Linked DNA regions of Homo sapiens: region 1 is linked to region 2. Evidence: promoter capture Hi-C in 16 types of primary human blood cells and fetal thymus (Javierre and others, 2016). All regions are on one chromosome and are shown on one strand. Each heading gives the region's core, a stretch centred on a gene start or on the middle of the fragment in contact. The rest is flanking DNA. Distances are from core to core; before and after follow the strand shown. Region 1 holds the start of B9D1 (B9 domain containing 1). Region 2 holds the start of EPN2 (epsin 2).

What was found. The method cuts DNA at HindIII sites, captures the fragments that hold promoters and counts their contacts. A CHiCAGO score of 5 or more calls a contact.
Region 1: a fragment that was not itself captured here is called in contact with the fragment with the promoter of EPN2 in region 2 in 5 of 17 cell types (naive B cells, endothelial precursors, total B cells and 2 more); the score reaches 8.1 in naive B cells.

Annotation. Positions count from the first base shown.
Region 1 is chr17:19,360,011-19,365,292 of GRCh38, reverse strand. B9D1 (B9 domain containing 1) reads left to right here and starts at 2,570. Exons shown (of 7, transcript NM_015681.6): 1 at 2,570-2,786; 2 at 4,905-4,973. The coding sequence starts at 2,724. It overlaps LOC105371573 (a long non-coding RNA gene), which reads right to left and starts at 2,516. Exons shown (of 3, transcript XR_934302.4): 1 at 2,122-2,516; 2 at 1,783-1,813. RefSeq lists enhancers at 2,101-2,170, 1,727-2,511, 2,971-3,110 and a silencer at 2,661-2,930. The HindIII fragment of the contact is 848 bases long and covers 3,498-4,345 here.
Region 2 is chr17:19,234,228-19,239,016 of GRCh38, reverse strand. EPN2 (epsin 2) reads right to left here and starts at 1,651. Exons shown (of 11, transcript NM_014964.5): 1 at 1,486-1,651. RefSeq lists a silencer at 1,274-1,743. The HindIII fragment of the contact is 5,263 bases long and covers 130-4,789 here.

The DNA of each region.
Region 1 (5,282 bases), core at 2,672-5,171, 120 kb before region 2:
TGGGTCCAGATCGACTGCAGATGGACTCTTGTGAGATCAGGTTACCATGGGGGAGCTGCTCTTGTCCTCAGCAGGGCCCGAGGGCTCTGGGTTTGGTAGCCTGGTCCTGGCACAACTGGCAAGGGGCAAGGCCTCCGTCGCTCACCAGCGCTGTGCAGGCCGTCCCCCTGGCCACTCAATCCCACTGTTCCCTCTTCCTGAGACAGCTCTGCTGGGGCCAGGGGTTTGAACCCGATTTCAGTAAGGATGGGAGCAGAAGCCTGGGATGGTTGAGAGACTGGGGGAGGCAGATGGCCAGGGTGGAGCTTGGGACCCTGCAGGGGCTCTGGCCAGCTGCCCGGCAGCACCATGGCCATAGGCATGCAGGGAAGAGGGCTGGCGCTGACACCTGCTCTGCTCAAGCCAGCTTCCAGCCTCACCCCTGCCCAATGGCTGACAGCCCCGCCTGCCCAATGTGCTGGAAGCTTCCCTGAGGGGACTGCGTGGGAGTGTACCAGAGGACAGAGCTGTACTAAGAGTGAGGTGGGAGCGAGGAATGTCTAGGAGCCCAGGAAGGCATCTGGGGGTGGAGAGACTTGGCACAGGCACAGGCAGGGAAGCTCAGCAATATATGTTAACAACCAGCATGGCTGGACTGGTGCAGATCGGCTGGATGTCAGCTGGGCTGAGGGTCTGCCCCACCCCATTGCAGATCCCTACATCCCACCCCAAGAGCTGCAGAGTGTCCTGCTGAGATCGCTGTGTGTCAGCATCTGCAGAAACTACCTTCTCCTCCAACCTGACTGTCCTGACCTGAAGGACAGCCTGCCCAAGGACTTCTAGTACACCAGGCTCTCCACTGGGCCCTTGAACTGGTGGTAAGGATTCCAGCAGGCCCTATGCAAGCCCCTATGCAAGCCCCTGAGACCCCTCTCCTAAAGTCGCTTCTAATGCCACTAGACTTGTTAAAGTTAGGCCTGGTCACCCTCCCATCCTATCCTGGAGTCTTCCATTCCCCAACACCCAGGGGTCGGGCTTATTTGTACCCCTGAAGGCCACCCTAGAACTTCCCACCCCTTGGGGAGACTCCCCCATTATGTCCTATTTGAATGTGGGGCCACCTTTGGTATAGCCAGGTCTTAAACTACTGGGAGCCCCCAGTTATTCGATAACTACAAGCATTTTGCTGAAAACTAACTTGTGTGCAACACCGAGCCTCAAAGGCCAAAGGGAGGAAATAATTGGGTGAGACTGATAGAATGTGTGGGAGAAAGCACTTTAACTGGAAAGAGATGGACAGAGCGGGGGAAGAAGGGAGTATGACCCCCTCTCCAGGAGGGGAAATGGGCCCTGTCTTGGGCTCTGGGTGCAGCACTTGGGCCACCAGCCCACCCATCCCCTCCCCCAGCTGCTCTTGTCAGATGTGTGAACTGGTTACCCGCTGCCTCCCTCCCCTGATCAAATATCTTTGCTCACTAGGCAGGGGGTGGTTCAGTGGGTGCAGGCTGGGCTGAGACTGCTCCTTCCCTCCCTCGTGCAGATGGTTGATGGGACTCCCCTAGTCTGCTCCCAAGCTAGAAGCTGCAGAATGTGATGACCTGGGGTCCCTGCTCGGAGCCTGGCCTCCCGGGAGTCTACACACCTGTGAATCCCTTCATTTCCTGGATCCAAGATAATGTCTCCAACGTCTCCTTTGACACCTCTGCCAACAGATGCTGTTGGGGCTGGCCCAGGACAAGACAGAGGCAGTGAGGGTTGTTAGCCTCTGGAGTCCTGGGTTTGAATCCTGACTTAGCTACTTACCTGCCTTTGCCATCTGAATCTGTTTCCTCCTCTGTAAAATGGAGATGTCTTCAATTATTCATTTATCAACAAGTTAGTAGTTACCAAGTGCTTACTCTGTGACAGGCCACTAAGATACAAGACTGTATCTTGACAGATTCGTGGATTTTGGCTAGCAACTCCCCTGAGCGCTGGCTGATTGGGGTGCCAGGCGCCGCCCGCTGCGGGCCTCAGTTTCCCCAGCTTCGAACTAAAGAGCGATGGCTTGGATGTAAGGATTCTTGAGGTCCCTCCCAAGTTTGTTTAATAAACTTTTTCGAGGGCAAGCGTCTCCAAGCCACAGGGGCGCATCCTTTTCACCTGCTTGGACGCTGCTTGGCCCCAGCTGGGGAGGCTCCTCCGAGCACCCGGCATTCCAGAGTTAGCCCCGACAGCTGTGGTCACGTCGCCCGTGCTCTGCAGCGCCTCCCTCCGCGTCCTCGCGGTGGGGCCACAGCGACATCTAGTGGCTGAATGTATTTTAAACACTCGGCTTGCTGAGGGCGTGAGTCGGAGCGCTGCTCCCCAGGACTCAGCTCTCATTCGCCTCTGCGCTTCGGCGGGGACGGGGAGCCGGGCCGAGTCAGAGTGAACACACACTCCCTGCGCGTGCAACTGAGTCGAGCGGTAGGGCTGGCTTTACCCGACAGGTCAACGCTCCCGCCCCAGCTCTCGGTCATACCTGCCCTAAGGAGGGGTGGAGCCTCGGCGTGGATCCCCGCCCCTTGTGCCCCGCCCCCTTATAACGGCGCCCGTTCACTGCGCCTGCGCATGCCACACGCGCACTCGCGTGGCCTTCGCGAAGGTGTCGCTGCCAAGAAACGTGTCCTGCGCGCTACGCCGTCTGTTTCTAGGGCAACGCCGGCGTCTCTTAGCAACCGCGCGCGGCCTAGGTGGGTCCCCCCGGCACCCCCAGACCTGCCATGGCGACCGCGAGTCCTAGCGTCTTTCTACTCATGGTCAACGGGCAGGTGGAGAGCGCCCAGGTGAGCGGCCGTGGACCCCGCCGGGGCCCGCCCCCCAGCGTCCCCCGGGGCCCTTCCCGCAACCCCCCGGGCTGCCCTGTGGCCCCCGGAGAGCCACGTCATTCCTCTGAGCCTCTCGGTTAGGCGGGGGAGGGGAGCCAGCATTGGAGAGCTTGGCGCGAGGTTGCCCGGATCCTGAGTCCCGATGTGCAGGAATAGAAGCAGACCTCGAGATGTTGAGCTAGTACCGAGGTCACACTCGGGCAAGCCTGTGGGCCCTCGCACGGGTCATGCCCACTTGCTTGGATCACTGGCAGGAGCCTCCTGGGGTTAACGCGAGGAGCCGAGGCTTGGCCGAGTTTCCAGCATTTGCGCTGTGTCCCGTGTGGAGTTACTGTCCCGCGTTCTGAATCCCCAGATCCTTGAACTCGGGTTCGAATCCAACCATCCAACAATGGTGGTGGCCTGGAATTGACCCAAGGAAGGTGTGCCTGCTAGGCCCGAGGGACGCTATTCCCCATCCCCCTACACTTTAGAGGAATCATTTATTGTAAATATAAACCAACGCTCACCAAGTCCTCAATATGTCCCAAAGTCGGTGCTCCGCACTGGTCCACCCTTACAGCCTTACCAGATAGGCACTACTAACACCCCCATTTTACAGCTGGGGAAATATACCAAAGGAACTGGCCTGTCTGGGAATTGAACCCACGCCTATCTGACCTCAAAGCTTCACTACACTGTCCTTCCAGGCTGTTGGAGGTGGTGTTTATTATTATTTTATAATATTATTGTGAGGATTGACTGAGACGGTTTGGGTAAGGCTCTGACAGGGCCTGATGCTTTGTAGGTGTCTCCTGCCTTCCTATTTCATCAGGGATACTACTCCATGCTCCCACCCTGTCCGCCTCTGCCTTAGCCTAGTGCCTAAGACCGTCTTTCCCCACTCTCCTGTCCTTTCCTATTAGGGGCTCTCGGCTGGGCTGAGTCACATGTGTCTGTGCTCTCAGCATCAGCGACCCCCCCGCCACACACACACTGACAGTCACACTGTTCCTCCCTGCTCTGCTCTCAGCACCTCCCTCTTTTCAGGGCCTCAGCTCCAGCCTTGCATATGATGGCTTCCTGGGTTCTCAGACCTTTCACTTCAGCACCATTCCCTTACACCAGTGGTCCTCAACCTTTTTGGCACCAGGGACTGGTTTTGTGGAAAACCAGGTGGCGAGGGATGGTTTTGGGATGATTTGGGGACATTACATTTATTGTGCACTTTATTTCTATTATTACCTTGTAAATAATAATGAAATAATTATACAACTCACCATAATGTAGAATCAGTGGGAGCCCTGAGTTTGCTTTCCTGCAACTAGATGGTCCCATCTGGGTGTGATGGGAGACAGTGACAGATCATCATGCGTTAGATTCTCATAAGGAACATGCAACCTAGATCCCCCACATGTGCAGTTCACAGTAGGGTTCGTGCTCCTATGAGAATCTAATGCCGCCACTGATCTGACAAGGAGGTGGAGCTCCCGTGGTCATGCGAGCAATGGGGAGCAGCTGTAAATACAGTTGAAGCTTTGCTTGCTCGCCTGCTCCTCACCTCTTGCTGTGTGGACCCGTTCCTAACAGGCCACGGACTGGTTGAGGACCCCTGCCTTAGACCTTATCTGTGCCCAGCCCTGTGCCAGGCAGTGGGGACACAGAAAGGCATTAAATCTCTTCTCTACTCATGGTCTAGAGGAACTGACAGACTTAGACACAGGCAATCATTGCTTTTATGGAGGGAAGCACGGGGCTAAGGGAGCCAAGAGGAGACCTTAAACCAGCTTGAGAGTTAGAGCAGGCTCCCTGAAGGGTAAGTTTTGAAGGGTGAGCAGGAGTTTTCCGGATGAAGTAGGAAGGACAAATCAGACAAGGCAGAGCCTGAGCAAAAGCCAGGGGCCGTGGCACCTGGGAGTCTCCCGTGGACTCCCGCTTCTTGGTCCTCAGCCTCTCCTCTGAACACATCTCCAGCCGTCTCTTAGACCCACTCCCAGGTGTCTCACGTTCAGAATTCCCCTTGGCTGCACCTGCCTAGCAAATGCATTGGCCTCAGCATGAATACCAGTCGACAGAATCTGTCTGTGCTTTTTTCAGTTTCCAGAGTATGATGACCTCTACTGCAAGTACTGCTTTGTGTACGGCCAGGACTGGGCCCCCACAGCGGTAAGCTGGACTCTTGGGCCTCCCTTACCGCCTTCATGACTTTTGGGGTTTCTGAAGGTGTCATATCCTTCCCCTCCCCATTCAGAACAAGTTAAGAGGTAGAGACTGAGTTCAGGGGAACCCAAACATGAGTGTTCCTGGTAAAGCGGGAGCAGAGGACACAGCCATGGTTGGACTCCCTGATCCATCCACCAAGACTGCACTCAGAAGCCCTACCCTGTGAGCTTCCCCGGGGCAGCAAAGAGCAACACCTGCAGTAGGAGGCAGGCCCCAGTGAGCCAGCCTGGACGTGGCTGAGCTGTGGACACT
Region 2 (4,789 bases), core at 402-2,901:
ATGCTAACTCAATCACTGCTGTGCCAGATTCAGCATAAGATTTTGTCAGCACCTAAAATTCTGTATCTAGAGCTACAAGAGGCACGTTTTCTGCCAAATCTTCGTTATATTACATAATGAGAGGAAGCTTGGATTCTTAAAATTCACCTTTTCCCATCATTTTAACACCCTGTTCCAATCCCTTCTTTCACAGGATATTTTCTGGAGGTGAAAAGGAATAACTCATTACTTCTCATATTTTCCTGCCCACTTTCTTGCATAAATATTAAAAATAAAGGGGAAGGTAGGGTCCTGAACATCTCCCTAAAAGATAAAAAAGTTATTAAATGTGGTAAACAGAGCCTGGAGACCTAGCTTCTAGTTCTGCACTGACACAGTATCACTGCGTGACCTTGGGCAAATTACTGCAGTTCTGGGCCTCAGTTTCCCTCATCTGAACCCTAATGATGGTTAAGCCCTCTCCGCTCTTAAAGCACAGATTTTAGATACGTCCCCAGGGAAGCACAACTGTGAAGGAGTCGCCCAGACGGACTCCTTGGGCGGAGAAACGGCCTTCCACAAGCTCCGGCGGGGGGATTCACAGGGAGCTCAAGCTGCCCCAGGGAAAGCCACTGGGCAAACTTCAGGTCGCAAACAAAAACCTGTTGGCACCGACTCCTCTAGCAAAGGCCAGCCTCCCAACGCGCTCGGCTCTCGGCTCTAGGGGAGCCGCCCCACAGGGAGAGAGAGGAAGTCTCTCCTGGAAGAGGCCAGACCCCACGCACCCATTCACCCACCCGGATCAGCCGAGCAGGACCGCCGGGCCGGGTGGGTCTCTGCCATCCCACGCGGAACAAAAGGCAGCTGGAGCCTGGCTCTTCCGCCCCCGTCCCCGCTGTTCCGTGGGAGTGGGGGCTGGGGAGTGGGGAGCCTGGTCCCCAAGGACGGAAGGGGGCCCTGCTACAGCCCCCAGGAAAGGTGAGACGGGCGGGATCCCGGACAGAGATAAGGACCCCTCCCCCGATTCCCGGAGGGCGCCCGGACCGGGCTCTGCACGGGGGCTGGCGGGAGACCAGGCTGGGCTCAGGAGGAAGGGGCGCCGGGCTCGGGGAGAGGAGGAACGTGCTCTGGGGAGGGGGCGGGGTTGTTCCAAGATGAACGGGGCTCCAGGATCCGAGGTAGGAGTAAGGGGCGCCCTGGACTCTGGGGACATAAAAGGAGATGCTCGGTGATAGGGACGGGTAAGGGGGGAGATCCTTGCAGCGGAAAGCTGGATCCAGATGGGAAGGGGGCCATGCTCCAGTCCGTGGGGCGGGGCCTGGTTGGAAAGAAGGGGATCCCCCAGAGCCTGGCGTAGGGACCAGCGGGGCGGCAGGGGCGCATGCCCTGGCGGGGCTGGTGAGGTAGGGGAGCCTGTGCTCTGGGGGCGTCCGCGCCCTGGAGAGGGGGAGGGTCCTCGCCCCGGGGACTCGCTCTGGCCTTGGAGCCCCACGGGCTGTGGCTCACCTCTGCTCCTCCGGGCCGGCGTGGGTGCGCCGCTGCGGCCACCGGCAGCGCTCGAGAGGCGGGAGCGACCGTAGCCCGCGGAGCCGCCGCCACCGCCGCGTCTGGCTCAGTTTGACACCCACACACCAGCCAACATGGCGGCCGGGAGGGGGCGCGCCGGACGCGTGCGCGCGCCCTCAGGCCCCGCCCCCGAGGCCCCGAGGTCCCGCCCCCACGCCCGCAGACCACGCCCCTGCGACCCCGCCAGAGCCCCTCCCTAGTGGCCCCTGCGCGGCTTCCCCTCCGCCTCCTGCGCTCCAGGACCCCACGCGGACGACCCACCCTTCCGCAGCGCCCCACAGTCGACGCCCGAGCCCCCAAAAAACCCCCAATCCCGAGCGCCACACAAACCCTGGCAAATTAATACCCGAACGCGCGCACTCTAATCCCCTTCAGGCCACTCCACCCCGTACACACTCACGGCCCCCCCACACTCACGGCCGGGCAGCACGCGCAGACCCCGCCCCGTCAAGCAGAAACTCACGCTCCGGCCTGCCGGTTTCACTCAAAAACCTTGTTCAGTAGGAGAGACTGGAAGGGGGCCAGGGCCTGCCGGGCGCTGGTAGGGTTGGGTTCTTAGGCTACAAGTGTGTTCACTTTATGAAGATGCGCGGAAGTACACTTTGGATTTGTGCGCTTTTCCGTGCGTGTATTTCACGTCAATAAAATATACTCAAAAACGGAGAAGTCTCTAGGCTTCTTTAGGCTGCTCAAGGGGTTACCTAAGGGCACGAATGGCAAGGGGTTACCTACATGGCACGAAAACGGAAACCCTTGACTGGCGGGCACCCACAAAGCACCTCCTCTGTGCCAAGCCCTGTGCTGGGCACAGAAATGAGACAGCCCCAAATGCCTCGAATGAGAGTCCCGGAACTGGAGGGGCCAGAACTGGAGGCTGCACCTCAAAGCTGACTAACCTGCTCCAATCAGGGTGGGAGTCAGCAGAGACTTCTCACAGCAGGGGCGCGGAGCATGAGTCAGGGCTTGCTAGGTGGGCAGAGGGCACCATCCCTGTTGCCTGGGTGACATCAACACTCTGCCTAGCCTTGGCTTCAGGGAAGCTGTGGCCAGAAGTCTTCCTCTGCCCTAACTCACTGAGGGACCTTAAACAAGTCACTGTACTTCTCTGAGCCTCAGATTCCTCCTCCCTGTACAGGAACCAGGGGATGAAAGTATCCCTTAAGGTTCTAACAACCCAGGATCTGGAATTCCATTCTCTGGCAAAAAAAAAAAAGGTTGTATCTTTCCAGGAATTCATCTATTTATTGTAAGTTTTTTAGTGTGTGTGCATAGACGTGTTCATAATAGTTTTTGAGGGCTTTTTTGTGTTTGTATGGGGTCGGTGGTAATGTCCTCTTTGCCCTTTCTGATTATGTTTACTTGTATCTTCTCTTTTTTCTTTATTAGTCTAGCTAGTGATACAATAAATACGATAAAAATGGAGAGAGCTTGTAACACGTTTGCAAAACCACATAGCCACTTTTCCTTTGAAAAGTCAAACACTGGTAGCTCTAGATGCTAGAAACACTCTCCAGTTAACCACCCTTCCCACTGCTTGGTGCCCCTTCTCCACCAGCAGAGGGAATTATGCCCTATGTGCCTGCCTTGCAGCAGAAGCCGGAGCTCCCCGTTTTGAACTTGGTCCACCCTCATCCCAGAGAATGCCCTCAACCAGTCCAACATTCCTTGTGAGCCTCACCTCTTTACCCCATCTCCAAGGAAAGCAGAACTTTACACTGCAATCATGCTTCTGCCCTGAGTTTACAATGTCAGATGAGTTATAACACAGAGCTGATGCACAGCACGGGCGTGATGCTTCTAAATCAGCACTGTTCAGCAGAATTTCCCTCCACGATGGAAATGTTCTTTCTGCGTGCTGTCCGTAGGATAGCTACGAGTCACAGGAGGCCAGCGAGCACTTGAAATGTGGCTAGTGAGACTGAGGGGCTGAATTTTTTAAACTTCATTAAACTTTTATTAATTTAAATGTAAATAGCCATATGTGGCTAGATGCTACCATGCTGACCAGTGCTGGTCTAAAACCTTACCACAATTCCACAAGTGCACATTCTTTTTTTATTTATTTGTTTTGAGACGGAGTCTCACTCTATTGCCCAGGCTGAAATGCAATGGCACAATCTCAGCTCACTGCAACCTCCATCTCCCAGGTTCAAGTGATTCTCCTGCCTCAGCCTCCCACGTGGCTGGGATTACAGGCCCGCACCCCCACACCTGGCTAATTTTTGTATTTTTAGTAGAGACAGGGTTTCACCATGTTGGCCAGGCTGGTCTCGAACTCCTGACCTCGTGATCCTCCCGCCTCAGCCTCCCAAAGTGTTGGGATTACAGGTGTGAGCCACCGTGCCCAGCAAGGTGCACATTCTTGCTGTTCACATTTTACAGACAAGAAATTGAGGTTTGGAGATATGCTGGGGCTTGGCCACCCAGGCCCACTTTTCCATATGCAGAGCCTAATACTCCCTTCACTACCCACCTAGCAAGTGTGTGTAGCCGCACAGATAATATGCAAGCCTGGAAAGAGAACTGGATACAGATAATGAGATGATGAGCTAACCTACAGGACAGGAAGTGAGTTGGAGAATACCAGATTAGCCCAGGCTTGGGAAGTGGAGGAGGGTGTCCTGAGGCCGGAAGACCGCCACGTGCAAGGTCAGAGGGGACATTCTTGCATTCCTCAAAGTCATTTCTCTTTCCTGGACCCCCTCCTTGAAGCGTATCAGCCCCCTGGCATTCCTCTCTCAATTCATCCTCATGATGATCCCTTGACGTCAGCAGCCCTATTCCTATTTTAGATGCGGAAACTGAGGCAGCATGTGGCAGGGCTAGGATTCAATTCCAGGTTCTATGAGTCTAGAGCACATAAGCAGTCTTGCAGAGGAACTTGCAGGATAAGCTGAACAATTTCATCCGTGCCCAAAGCAGTCCATGGAAAACAGGGCTGGAGGAGACACTCTCATCTGCCCTTGCAGAGGTTTGGAGGTTGGTTCCAGGTGGATAATGGAGCAGACTGATGGGGGCCGGTTGGAGAGGTGTATTTCAGAAGAAAGAGCTGGCAGTGCAGGCCAGGGGTGTCTCTGGGGTTAGGGAAGGAGGGTTTCAAGCAGGAAGGGACTTTGGGGGAAAGACTGGCAGGCAGCAGACAGGGACAGACTGCATGCTGAATGAAAAGAATCACTTAGCACAGGTGCAGAACAGGCTCCCCGGGATCTTCACCAAAGGCTTGAACTCTATATTCAAAACTATT